Regions from separate parts of the Homo sapiens genome. Here region 1 is linked to region 2. The links are contacts of gene promoters, found by promoter capture Hi-C in blood cells and fetal thymus (Javierre and others, 2016). All regions are on one chromosome and are shown on one strand. The core of a region is centred on a gene start or on the middle of the fragment in contact, and the rest is flanking DNA. Distances in the headings are between cores, read along the strand shown. Region 1 overlaps ZFY (zinc finger protein Y-linked). Region 2 holds the start of RPS4Y1 (ribosomal protein S4 Y-linked 1).

Region 1 (6,850 bases), core at 858-3,357, 130 kb after region 2:
ATTTCAATTTTAATTTTAAACTTGTATTTGTCCTTTCTGTTCTTTTACTTATATATATGCATTGAGAAATATCTGAATAATATTATTGTAAATTCTATTCATATTTCAGATGGTTTGTTTTTGAGCACTCTTTAATTTTTAAGTAGTTTCTTAAATATTAAAGTGGATCATCTCAAGAAAAAGCTATCTTTTAGGGCAAAGTTGAAGAAGCATAAGGGAATAAATAATAAAATAGTATTGTTTAAATTTGGGGCCCATGAGATATTGAGGACAATAATACTGTAAAGACCAAAGGAGTTTGGGCAGATTTTGGTTGCTAGACTGTGCAATTTGTATTTTACTTGGTAGGAAAAGGAGTGCTAGAGACTAGGGCTGGAGGGTAAAGTAACTGGATCTTTCTTTTAAGAAGACAGAAAATTGATACCAATTTTCTTGATACCATTGATACCAATGTCAGGGTGTTTGGTTGGAAACCTTAGGAGAGAGAAATCAGGTAAACTGTTTGTTTCTGAGGTTGGTGGTAAATGAACTTTAACAACCTGGTTTTGAAAGATGAGACAATTTGAGTGGAGAGGCACAAGCCATGTTCTTGCATTGTAAGACTGCAAAGCAAAAGAATAGCAACGTTTTTATGATATTAATTTAGACAAAATGCAGTCCAGTGGAAATCCAACATCCAATTTTTTTTGTCAGCAAAACTGTAATTCTTTTTCTGAGGAAAACAAAGAGAAGTGAGATAACATGACTAGCTAAAAATTAAGCTGTGAATTATAAAGACAGACATCCTTCTCATTTCCTCACCTCTCCCTTTCGTAGCTGATTGGCTTGTGTTATTACAGCAGGTTTTACTAGCATTATTGGAATCTTTAACTCCCTAGCTTGTTTCATGCCCTTCCAATTACCTCTCCAGCTTTTACTACTTAGGTTAATTTGTGAATTCTTTCTTGCCCCTGCCTTAAATTGTAATCTCACTGGGACTGTGATTTTCTTTACACTCATGATTTCTTTACAGCTCATGATTTTCTTTACACTGCAGTTTGCTGATGGCTTCCAAATTGGTGTTGATCTTCAGCTTTCAGAGTTGAATATTCTGTAGGTGGCTTCATATGTCATTCATTCCGTCTTCTCAGTTTATTCTTAAATATGACCCAACTCCAGCCTTTATCCCAATTTATACTACCTCTGTCCTGATTCAAGGCTTCATTATCTGTCACCTAAATGTACTTGAAGCTGTAGTGCCCTGCTTCATTTCTTGATCTCTTCAAATCTGCTTTTTTATAAGGCCAGCAGGATGCTTTGGCAAAAATACTGATCTTAGTGACTGGTCTTTTTAAAAGCAGAAATTATCAGATCTCTGATAAGAATCCCCAAGAGTAGGATACCTTGAAGTCTATTTTGTATACAAGTTCATTCCATACCTGCAGATCTGGTTTTAATCAGATTGAGAAACTTGCAGTCTACCAGAATTAAGTTTGAGCCCCTCTGCCTGGTGCATAAAGTCCTCCATGACCTGGTTTTGCTTTACCTGTAGTTCACATTTCCCACTATGGCCTAATTTGCAGCAGTATTGAAGAACACACTCTCTTACTGTCCTGTCCCCCTACCTGCTGTATCCTTTGCATAGAATAAGTGCCATTCTCTTCCAGTCTACATAACGTACCTTCACTTTTTTTTGTGGCAGCTGTTATTGCACTTTGCAACATTTGCCAAAACGTTTCTGACTCCCCAGCCTGTTTTATAGTAACACTCATATGGACACCTTGAAAATTTATAAAATATTATTTCATTGGATGAGAAAATGAATCAATTTTAATAAAAATAATTTACACCAATGTTAACATTAAAGATTGCACTAGAGTTCAAAATTAGTATATTTTTATGTTTAAAGAAATTTTAGGCCAAGTGCAGTGGCCTGAGCCTGTAATCCCAGCACTTTGGGAGACTGAGGCAAGTGGATCACTTGAGGTCGGGAAGTTCAAGACCAGCCTGGCTAATATGGCAAAACCCCATCTCTACTAAAAATGCAAAAATTAACAATGCTTGATGGCAATGCCTGTAATCGCAGCTATTTGGGAGGCAGAGGCAGGAGAGTCACTTGAACTTGGGAGTTGCCGTGAGCTGAGATAGCGCCAGTGCACTCCAGCCTGAGTAACTGAGACTCCTATCTCAAAAAAAAAAAAAAAAAAAAGAGAGATTTTAACTTTTTCTTCTAAGTAATCTTTTAAATTTACTTTAAGGAATCAGGTAGTGTCTAAGTGACATTTTGTTTTGAAGACAAGTGTATATTAAAATGTGATTTGCCAATGTTACTGTATCCAAAATAGACAAAAAAACTCTTTTCCCCATTGTTTTGGGTTCTTACATCTTGTGTTTAAGTAGTTAAGTTTTAGTTGCTTTTAGTAGCCCAGTGTTTCAAGTTCTCATATTGTAGGTTAAGTAGTTAGATTTTATAATATCCGTGTTTGTAACAAGGAGATGCTATTTGAAAGTAGTCCATAATTTCTAGTAAGAAACTAAATTATATCGTCATTGTATTTTTGTTTTTTTTATGTTGGCTTTAGATAATTTTGATTAGACAAATATAGTTTTGGATCTTTTGAAGAACAAGACGGGGAATTTGAAAAGTATGCAGAGATTTCAAAATCTAAATTCTGTGTTTATAAGCCACTGCTGAAAGTTAAGACTAAGAATTTAAAACCTAAAATAGTCAAAACTATTACCATTGCCTTTTGTAAGTAATGCTTATTGTAGTTGAGTTGTGAATACATTTATCTGCTCTACACTAATGAAAAACATCTTTTGTTATACTGTTCTTTATTTCTTACAAAAAATTATTATTGCCTCTAACAATTTAAACTTAACAGCATTCTTCAAACACCAGAGGTTGATGGTGGTTTCTTGTGAATTACATGGATCAAGATTTGAATTCTGGTTTTGCCAGTTACTAGATGTGTGACCTTAGATAAATCATTCAAGTTTTCTAAACTTCAGTTTGCTTTACTGTAAAATGTCGACAGTATTATAGCACTTCCTCATGGAGTTATGAGTATTAAGTAATGCTTTCAGTAATCACTTAATAAAAAGTAACTACATTATTATGATCACATTTTAAAATAATCATCTGTTCACCTGTCTGCTTTTTCACTGAATTACAAATTTCTTGGGTCCATTACTTTTTTTTTTTTTTTTTGGAGACAGCCTTTCTCTGTTGCCCATGTTTGCGTGCAGTGGTGAGATCTTAGCTCACTGCAACCTCTGCCTCCTGGGTTTAAACGATTCTTGTGCCTCGGACTCCCAAGAAGCTGGGATTACAGGCATGTGTCATTATGCCCAGCTAATTTTTGTATTTTCAGTAGAAAACATGTTTTGCCATGTTGGCCAGGCTGGCCTCAAGCAATCCACTCACGTCCACCTCCCAAAGCCCTGGGATTACAGGTGTGAGTCACCACGCCTGGCCTTGGGTCAGTTTCTTTTAAAGTTTGCACCTCTAATACTTGCCCAGAGTCTGATTGATAGTTGTGAATCATTGTTTAATTGACTTAAACATAAACATTTAGCCAAAAGGATAATGAAATATATTCAGCAGAGGATTACAAAAACAAAACTAAAATGGGAAAGGGGAAATGAAAAAACTTCTTGGGGTCCTCCTCCTCTGTGGTTGGTCTCTTGCTGTGTCATACTGACCAGGTGGGCCCAGAACAGAGAGAACATTACTTAGTGTTTCTCTAATGGACCAAACATTGAAAAATCCAATTTTTGTGATAAATTAAATTGTACTATGTGCTATGTGTTCATTAGTCTGTGCCACACTTTCTGTTATGCTAAAGATAGTAGTCAGTGCCCACAGTGGTGTGTAGTGTAAGGTTACATTATATGGGGGTTGTATTTTTGGTATTTACTGCAATCCAGAATGTATTTTTTAAGACATTATTTTTTACTTTTGTTAATTTTGAAGTCCCAAGCATAACACCACACTTGATTCCCTTACCGTGTAACACTTAAAAGTTTGTTGTAGATTCCCTGAGCCCACTGTTGGAAATCATATGTTCACTTTATCGGTAAGTAAGGATTCTTTTTTTTTTTTTTAATACATAAACATGAAACAGGCTGCCTTAAGTATTTAAGAAGATACTTAAGTATACATCTTACTGTATTTGCCAGCAGTAGACCCAGACTCATTAGAACTCATATATATGTTTTGTGTGTGTGGTTTTTTTTAAAAATGCATGTGTGTGTAGTGTTAGGTTTGAACAGGTTAATATCAGAATTTACAACTATTTATTTATTTATTTATTTATTTATTTATTTATTGAGACAGTTTCACTCTGTCATCCAGACTGGAGTACAGTGGTGCAATCTTGACTCACTGCAACCTCTGCCTCCCGGGTTCAAGTGATTTTCCTGCCTCAGCCTCCTGAGTAGCTGGTACTACAGGCTCCTGCCACCATGCCCAACTCATTTTTTTGCATTTTTAGTGGAGACAGAGGTTTCACTATGTTGGCCAGGCTGGTCTCAAACTCCTGACCTCAGGTGATCCGCTGCATCGGCCTCCCAAAGTGCTGGGATTACAGACATGTGCCACCATGGCCAGCCAGAATTTATGTTTCTGACAACCATATTTTGATTTTTAAAAAGTTTATGATTCTCATAGAACAGATAAGACAATTGTATTCAGAAGTACTGAATGTTAGGTAATGCTCATAAAATATATTAGGACTAGTGTGTACTGAATTTACTAGTAGGACATTATTTTTCAGATCTTCAAGAACATTGGTAAGCTGGATGCAGTGGCTCAAGCTTGTAATCCCAGCATTTTGTGAGGCTGAGGTGGGAGGATTGCTTGAGCCCAAGAGTTGGAGATAAGCTAGAGAAAACCAGTGAGACCTTGTCTGTACAAAGAAATAAAAAAATTAGCTGAGCATGGTGGCATACGCCTTTTGTCCCAGCTACTCAAGTAGGCTGAGACAGGAGGATTGTTTGAGTTCTGGAGGTCAAAGGTGCAGTGAACTATAATTGTGCCACTGTACTCTAGCCTGAATGACAGAAAAAGAAAAGACCCCATCTCAAAAAATAAAACAGAATACTTGTAATATTGTATGCTTTTACTTTATGATAAACAAAGATGACATATGTCCTTTCATTAGTTTTCTTAAGTTTTAAAGAATCTGCTGTTATGGTTGATGATATATTTTCTGCCTTTTCAGTGGATGATGCTGGCAAAATAGAACATGATGGTTCCACTGGAGTGACCATCGATGCAGAATCAGAAATGGATCCTTGTAAAGTGGATAGCACTTGTCCTGAAGTCATCAAGGTGTACATTTTTAAAGCTGACCCTGGAGAAGATGACTTAGGTAAGAGGAAGCTGTCAGCATTTTATACATTGTCATCCAAATGTTTCAACCAAATGGTGTCAAAAAAAGTAAACAGGTTACTTTTTTTCATTGATACTTAACATTTAGTTTAGGTTATTTAGATTGGAAAATTTGAACTCTTTTCCAAAGACAACTTTTAAGACATATTTTTGAGTTAGTAATATAAAAATACACTAAAACGTGTAAGCAAAATATGTGAAAATGAACTCTCAAATAATTTTTGGAGCTTTCATATTCTCTGATAGGTGGAACTGTAGACATTGTGGAGAGTGAACCTGAAAATGATCATGGAGTTGAACTACTTGATCAGAACAGCAGTATTCGTGTTCCCAGGGAAAAGATGGTTTATATGACTGTCAATGACTCTCAACAAGAAGATGAAGATTTAAGTATGTGGCTTTTTAAAAAAAAATTTTTACTTTAAGTTCTGGGGTACATGTGCTGAATGTGCAGATTTGTTACATAGATATACATGTGCCATGGTGGTTTGCTGCACCTATCAACCCATCATCTAGGCTTTTAAGCCCCCCATCCATTAGGTATTTGTCCTAATGCTCTCTCTCCCCTTGCACCCCACCCCACAGTGGGCCCCAGTGTGTGATGTTCCCCTCCGTGTGTCCATGTGTCCTCATTGTTCAGCTCCCACTTACGAGTGAGAACATGTGACGTTTGGTTTTCTGTTCTTGTGTTAGTTTGCTGAGGATGATGGTTTCCAGCTTCATCCATGTCCCTGCAAAGGACATGAGCTTATTCTTTTTTATGGCTGCATAGTATTCCATGATGTATATGTGCCAGTATGTGGCTTTTTTTGTGGGAGAGGGTTTTATGTTTCTACAAGGTGTGTTTTTTTTTTTTTTTTGAGACAGAGTCTTATTCTGTTGCCAGGCTGGATGGAGTGCAGTGGAGCAATCTCCGCTCACTGCAGCTTCCACCTCCTGGGTTCAAGCAGTTCTCCTGCCTCAGCCTCCCAAGTAGCTGAGACTACAGGCACGTGCCACCACACCCAGCTAATTTTTGTATTTTTAGTAGAGATGAGGGTTTCACCATGTTGGCCAGGATGGTCTCGATCTCTTGACCTCGTGATCCGCCCACCTTGGTCTCCCAAAGTGCTGGGATTACAGGCGTGAGCCACTGTGCCCTGCCCAAGCTGTCGTCTTTTTTTTTAATGTAACCAATATTTGAAAAAAAATAAGCAGCGCTGTTGTAGAGATTACTGTGTTGCCGTATTCCAAGAATAGATATCAGTGACTATGTATGTTTTGATAGTTGCTTTATAAACTAATTATGGTGAAAGCCAAGAAACGAATAATTCAACCAATGTTTATTTTTTCCTACTAATGAATTTTTTCTGTGTGATCTCTGTAAACCTAGTCACAAAAAATTTTTTATTTATTTTGTGCTTAGATGTTGCTGAAATTGCTGATGAAGTTTATATGGAAGTGATCGTAGGAGAGGAGGATGCTGCTGTTGCAGCA
Region 2 (6,352 bases), core at 3,100-5,599:
GCACTAAATGAGAGTGTCACACATTAACCAGGCCCCTTGCTTAAGACAGCAGTACAAAAACCTGGATACATGCAATGTCATCCCACTTTCCCATTCAACTGCAAACTCCAGGTTCCAAACAATATTCGGGACAAGCAGTATGGCAATTCAGAGAAAATTCTAAGGAGGGCTTAGTACTAGACCTCAGAACCCCTGCCAAGGGCCTCTCCTTTGGAGAGGGTGAGGTCTGAAGAATTCCCCTACCTGTGCATCCCCCAATCTTAGAGTCAGATGTCTCTGACCTTAGGAGTGTACAAGTGCCAGTTGCATGTTTTCCCTCCAGAGGGAGGGAGGAAGAGTTTTTATTTCTACAAGCGGTTACAGGGAGAAGGCCTGGAAATTATTGCCAGGCCGACTCAAAATTACAAAGTTTTCCAGAGCTTCTATAGCTTCTAAGCTCTATATCTACATGTAAGTGTGCATTCATCTAAAGACATATGTGAATACTTCTTTTAATCTACAAGCAAGGTCTGAGTCCTGAAGACTTTCCTCTGGAGTCTCCGTAAATTTGCTTAATCTCAGTGGGTGCAGGTGCTGGGATGATTATACTTGTCACCTGCTAAATCATAAAGGTTTGAGAAGTTCCTTCAGACCCCCTAAGAAACTTTTTTGTGAAGGCCTGAAGAGTTTCTTCAGATCCCCAGTAAAACTTGTTTAATCATGCTTTTAAGGTTCAGGAAAGGCCTGGGGAAAACTCTTGGTGGACTTTTGTTGCATTCCAGCCTTTGTATAAGGACACTGGCTTTTTCAGCTTTTAATATTTAACTTAACCCATCAGTCAGTGCTGAAACAGTTGTTATAGAGGCCTGTGTTAGTGAGACCTGGCCTGCCACATTACCACATCCCTTAGCCTGTTTGGCTAAGGCTCTTTCAACACACTTAGGCCATGTGAAAAGTGAAAACGCATGCCTGGCACAGAATAAGTGCTCAGTAAACACATCAATTTGCTTACTGTTTGGAAGGAAGCTTTATCACCCAATCCCTGATTTAAGGTAGGAGTGTATATTGCCAAGTAGTTTGTTACATTTTCTTACACCTTGATTATTTTGAAATTATGCATATGGCACTACTCAACTAAGAGAGTGTGAAAGGAAAAATAAATGTTGGAACCCCCAAATCACTACGAGGCCAAAGAGAAAAGTCAAGCTGGGAACTGTGGCAGGCAAACCTGAGATGAGAATAAGACAAAGCTAAAAAAAAAAGCTACATAGGGCCGGGAGCGGTGGCTCATGCCTGTAATCCCAGCACTTTCGGAGGCTGAGACGGGTGCATCACGAGGTCAGGTGATCAAGACCATCCTGGCTAACGTGGTGAAACCCCGTCTCTACTAAAAATACAAAAAAATATATATATATATATTAGCCAGGCATGGTGGTGGGCGCCTGTAGTAACAGCAACTTGGGAGGCGGAGGCAGGAGAATGGCGTGAACCTGGGAGGCGAGCTTGCAGTGAGCTGAGATCGTGCCACTGCACTCCAGCCTGGGTGACAGAGAAAGACTCTGTCTCAGGAAAAAAAAAAAAAAAAGCTACATAGATTCCTCACAATTGCCCCAAAAGAGAAATTCATTGTGGACCTCAAGGTCTTTTTTTTGAGACAGAGTCTGGCTCTGCTACCCAGGCTGGAGTGCAGTGTCGCGATCTCGGCTCACTGCAACCTCTGCCTCACACATTCAAGCGATTCTCCTGCCTCAGCCTCCCGAGTAGCTGGGACTACAGGCACGTGCCACCATGCCTGGCTACTTTTTTGTATTTTCAGTAGAGACAGCGTTTCACCGTGTTAGCCAGGATCGTCTTGATCTCCTGAGCTCGTGATCTGCCCGCCTCTACTATGAGCTTTCATTTTTGTCACTGCAGGAAAGGCTTGACTGCTGGCATCCTTATAATTTGATAAGGCCATGATTTCCCATGCTTCCCATTCCATGAACGTTAATGATAGGAACTGGAAGCTGGGTTCGTTTTTTGTTCTTAGCCAGTTGAGTAGGATAACGGGAGAATAAGAAAAGAAGGTTTACATCTCCTGCAACATTTGCAAGTCTACTCTGAGCTGCATCACACATAGGAATCAGGGACCACACCTGGAACAGATTAAAAAAAAAAAAAAGGTCCTTCCCCCTTCTGGACAGGACAATTATTCCTATTCACTCCTTGGCATTCAGGTAACACAAGAGAGTGATCCTAGCTAATTGCCCTCAATTTCCAAGGAACTACAGGGAAACAGCCACTGAAAGACCAAAAAAGAAAAGAAAAAAAAAATTATAAAAGACCCAGATACCTTAAACAAACTGAGCAGTGGTGATTTGGTGCCTCCACACGGAAACTCCTAGATTCACTGCCCACAGCCAGAAACCTGCAGTTGCCTCTGTGTTTAGGCACTGCCCACCAAGGGTCTCAAATTGGAAAGCGCAGAGGTTCTACGCCCAGCCATGCACCTCAAGATCTTTACTCCAAAGCAGTTCTGTTTAATTTCACCCTGGCGACCTACATTGGTAGCTCATCTTCACAGGTGCAAGACAGAAAGTCCTCCATGTGCACATCTGCAACAAATGCCTATCTCATTGTTTCCTCTGCTACACTGTTTATGTAAAAATACAGACTCACTGAGCCAGACTATGAAAGTAATTGACTATTCCTCTACCCTTCCTGTTTTTTTTTTTTTTTTTTGACAGAGTTTCCAAAGCGATTCTCCTGCCTCAGCCTCCTGAGTAGCTGGGATTACAGGCATGTGCCAACACGCCCAGATAATTTTTGCATTTTTAGTAGAAACAGGGTTTCTCCATGTTGGTCAGGCTGGTCTTGAACTCCCAACCTCAGGTGATCCATCTGCCTCAGCTTCCAAAAGTGCTGGGATTACAGGTGTGAGCTGCCACACCCGGCCTCTACCTTTCCTGTTACAGTTAAATTGTGTATTTAGTGAAAGGCTGATCAGAGACCCAAAATAATGCAACCATTTGTCTCTTACGACATCAAACTCTACCTTCCCACTGCCCCAGCCCCCCACCAAGCCACCCCAATGTCCTGCACCATGTACATCTTACATCTTGCCTTCCTAAAATGTATGAAACCAACCTGTGCACTGGCCGAGAGAGAGAGAGAGAGAGAGAGAGAGAGAGAGAGAGAGAGAGAGAATAACCAGAAAGGAACACAAGGAAACTTTTGGAGGTGATGGAGATGTTCATTACCTCGATTGTGATGGTGGTATCGTGGATTTACGCCTATGTCCATACTCATCAAATTGTACACATTAAGGAAGTGCAGCTTCATTTGACTGGTTGTTTTTTTGTTTTAATTTAATTTAATTTAGTTTATTTTGAGACGGAGTCTTGCTCTGTCACCCAGGCTGGAGTGCAGTGGCGCGATCTCGGCTCACTGCAAGCTCCGCCTCCCGGGTTCACGCCATTCTCCTGCCTCAGCCTCCCGAGTAGCTGGGACTACAGGCGCCCGCCACCACGCCCGGCTAATTTTTTGTATTTTTATTTTTAGTAGAGACGAGGTTTCACCGTGTTAGCCAGGATGGTCTCGATCTCCTGACCTCGTGATCCGCCCACCTCGGCCTCCCAAAGAGCTGGGATTACAGAAGTGAGCCACCGTGCCCGGCCTGGCTGGTTGTTTTTTGTATATCAATTCTGTCAGGCGGACGCGCGTGAAAAATTCCAATGGAAGCTGTGACCACACACACGCCTGCGCAGTACAACTTACATAGCGGACTTCACTCTCTTAAAAGTGAATTGTTTTGCAGGTTTTACGACATGGACAGAGCTGTGCAGCCATCATCACGAGCTAATCCAAAGCAAGGTATTCGACTTAAAATTCAAATGCCATGAAACCTATCCTTTCAATGTTTACGGTACAGACGATTTTAGTACTTTCCCAAACCTATGAAATTGGCCCCAATCCTGAACAAGGAATGATTTGTCTCTGAAACAAATCATGATTTTGCAATCACAGCATGTCACAGTCACAAGGAATCATATAGGTTATTTCTCACGATTGGCATTTTTTTTTAAGGCTCCTAAATCGTGCTGTTTCAGGACTTTTGCTAAATATTTTGAAGGTCGGCGAAAGATAAGTTTAAGAGTGTAAACTGCGTCCTCCCAGCTCAGCCAACTTGACGGGGGGTAGGCACAACAAAAAGTCCTGCGGCATAACTGACACCTGTAAATCAGTATCAGAAACTGAAAATGCTAAGAAATTCAGTTCCAGGATATGAACTCTACAGCGGAAGAATAAGAAACCGGAACTAAACTTCTCACTCATCTGACTTCCTGCGGTTTACGACAACAGACTTTGGTTGCACCGGAAAAGAACAGATTCTCTTCCGTCGCAGAGTTTCGCCATGGTAAGACCGATAGTTCCTAACTCCTAGTATATCTGCCTCCATCATTTGAAAAAGGGCCGTTCTACCTTGGCGATGTTTCACTTTTCGGTCGCCCCTACTTGGTGGGTGGGAATGCTGCTGGTGCTGCTTCAGGAAACCCGATTTGGAGAGGGGAGGTCTGAGAAGAGTGTGTCTCGTTGTGCTCGGTCTGGGGGCCGTCACGTGAGTCCATCCTTGACGCAGCCCGGCAGTGGCTTTTTACCCGGATTAGCTTATTTTCACACGTTGAAGCAGCCTCAGATTCGCTTGGAGAGCACTGTGGACGCTCTCTTGACGGATGCTAGGGAGACCCGCCAAGTTTTCAAAGGTCTGTGCTTTGCGTGGTCTCTTCTGGGGTCTGGCAGGAAGTAATATTTGTTCAAAACGGGGCTTGAGTATGGGCTGGGCGATCTTTTCTCCTTGAGTCAGGTATTACCCGTTAGCAGTTCCTACAGCTGAAGATGAGGGCATTTCACTGTCAGCGGAAACTAATTTCTCTGAGTTTCGTGTCCTTTTCAGGCCCGGGGCCCCAAGAAGCACTTAAAGCGTGTTGCAGCGCCGAAGCATTGGATGCTTGACAAACTAACGGGTGTATTTGTGAGTATAACTTTGTTTTTTGTGGTTTTTTTTTGTTTTTTTTAGTCAAGAGTGCATGCTAAATACCTGTGGCTCGGTATTTCTTGGGGGCGGCGTTTGCTTGTTTGTTATGTGGGATTTTCGTTGGTAAAGACTTCCCGCACCCTGAACTTGTCCTTGCACTTTTCTGTGCAACAAAGGGCCAGGATGTCACGTCCCGATGGTTTCCTTTGCTCTTTTAGCTCGCCACTTCAGAGGGCACTTCCTGAGCCCAGAGCTGGGTGGGTTAATGAATGTGTCCAATTCCACATAAGAAAGGAGTTCAGTGACAGTCCGCTGAGTCCCCCATTAATAATCAAATGCGTTTAATTTAAAGTTACCCCTTGTTTTAGAGGGTGGAGTAGCTGCTTTTTACGTTGAGCCCGAGTTACTGGTTTAATAGTAAAGGCTACAGGAGCCCACGAAACAAGGGCAAGAAGTTGTGTGAGAAAGTCTGGAGGCTCTTGAACCCAACCTTGAAGACCTGGCAGGATGAGGGCAGTATACTCAGAGGCACAGTAGGCAAGCATCTCACAAGGAGACTAGGCAATTTCCACATTGATGGTGTGGTCACACTAGGAGAGAGTGGTTAAAACTGTAAAGTCTTGGTCTTCTGAGACAGAGAGGAGCCAGTGTGAAGAAGACAGAATCGAGGCGCTTAAGATGCCAAGGGTTTTTTGAGCAGGAATAAATGTGGTAAGAGACTATATTTAGCTCTGAGGGTCTCCATTTAGGAGGCACTTAGTAACTAACTTGATTTGGCCTCTTCTTGGTACAGTTTGAACTCTGAACACTGAGTAGTAGAAACTTGTCTTCCTTGTTCTGATATTTTCAGAGAGAACATAGGCAGTGTGTTGGCTGGGGACCTGGATTTGCAACCTGTCCCTGTCAGTTTCTGCTTCCAAGTGCTACCTCTGCTACTGTCACCTACTATTTGACCTCCCTGGATGGGCCATTGTTTTCTCTATTGTTAAGTGGATGAGCAAGGCACTCTTTAAGAAGACTTGCTGGGAACTTGGTCCCTTAGTCTTGTGGGTTCCTCTCCTTTTCCCTGTGACATTGATGAAAGTGTGTGGTTAATGATCGCGAGTCCGTTTTAAGAGAGACAAAGCTAGAGAGGGATCTGTAGAAGCAGCTTGAACGGTCTCCATTGGAAGAGATTCTTGTGTGATCCAAACTTAAAAGGTAATTGGGGAGTGGTGTTCAAGACAGACCTTGAGACTTTTATATGTACTGGTAGCAGATATCCTAAGGACAGTATAACACCAAAACTGCGAGAGTATAGGTTACAGGATTTGTTGCGGTGTGAATTTGATGACACTTAAGCCGGCAAGCAGCCAAGAG

Evidence for each region. Contacts are between HindIII fragments. The CHiCAGO score rates a contact against its expected background, and 5 or more counts as called.
Region 1: a fragment that was not itself captured here is called in contact with the fragment with the promoter of RPS4Y1 in region 2 in 1 of 17 cell types (naive CD8 T cells); the score reaches 7.0 in naive CD8 T cells.

Annotation. Positions count from the first base shown.
Region 1 is chrY:2,969,891-2,976,740 of GRCh38, forward strand. ZFY (zinc finger protein Y-linked) reads left to right here. Exons shown (of 8, transcript NM_003411.4): 4 at 5,205-5,354; 5 at 5,621-5,764; 6 at 6,780-6,850. All of the region lies in intron 2 of ZFY-AS1 (ZFY antisense RNA 1), which reads right to left. Among named protein-coding and RNA genes, the nearest start is that of ZFY-AS1, 29 kb to the right of the region's middle. The HindIII fragment of the contact is 5,375 bases long and covers 1-4,795 here.
Region 2 is chrY:2,837,253-2,843,604 of GRCh38, forward strand. RPS4Y1 (ribosomal protein S4 Y-linked 1) reads left to right here and starts at 4,350. Exons shown (of 7, transcript NM_001008.4): 1 at 4,350-4,375; 2 at 4,913-4,990. The coding sequence starts at 4,373. The HindIII fragment of the contact is 6,443 bases long and covers 1,004-6,352 here.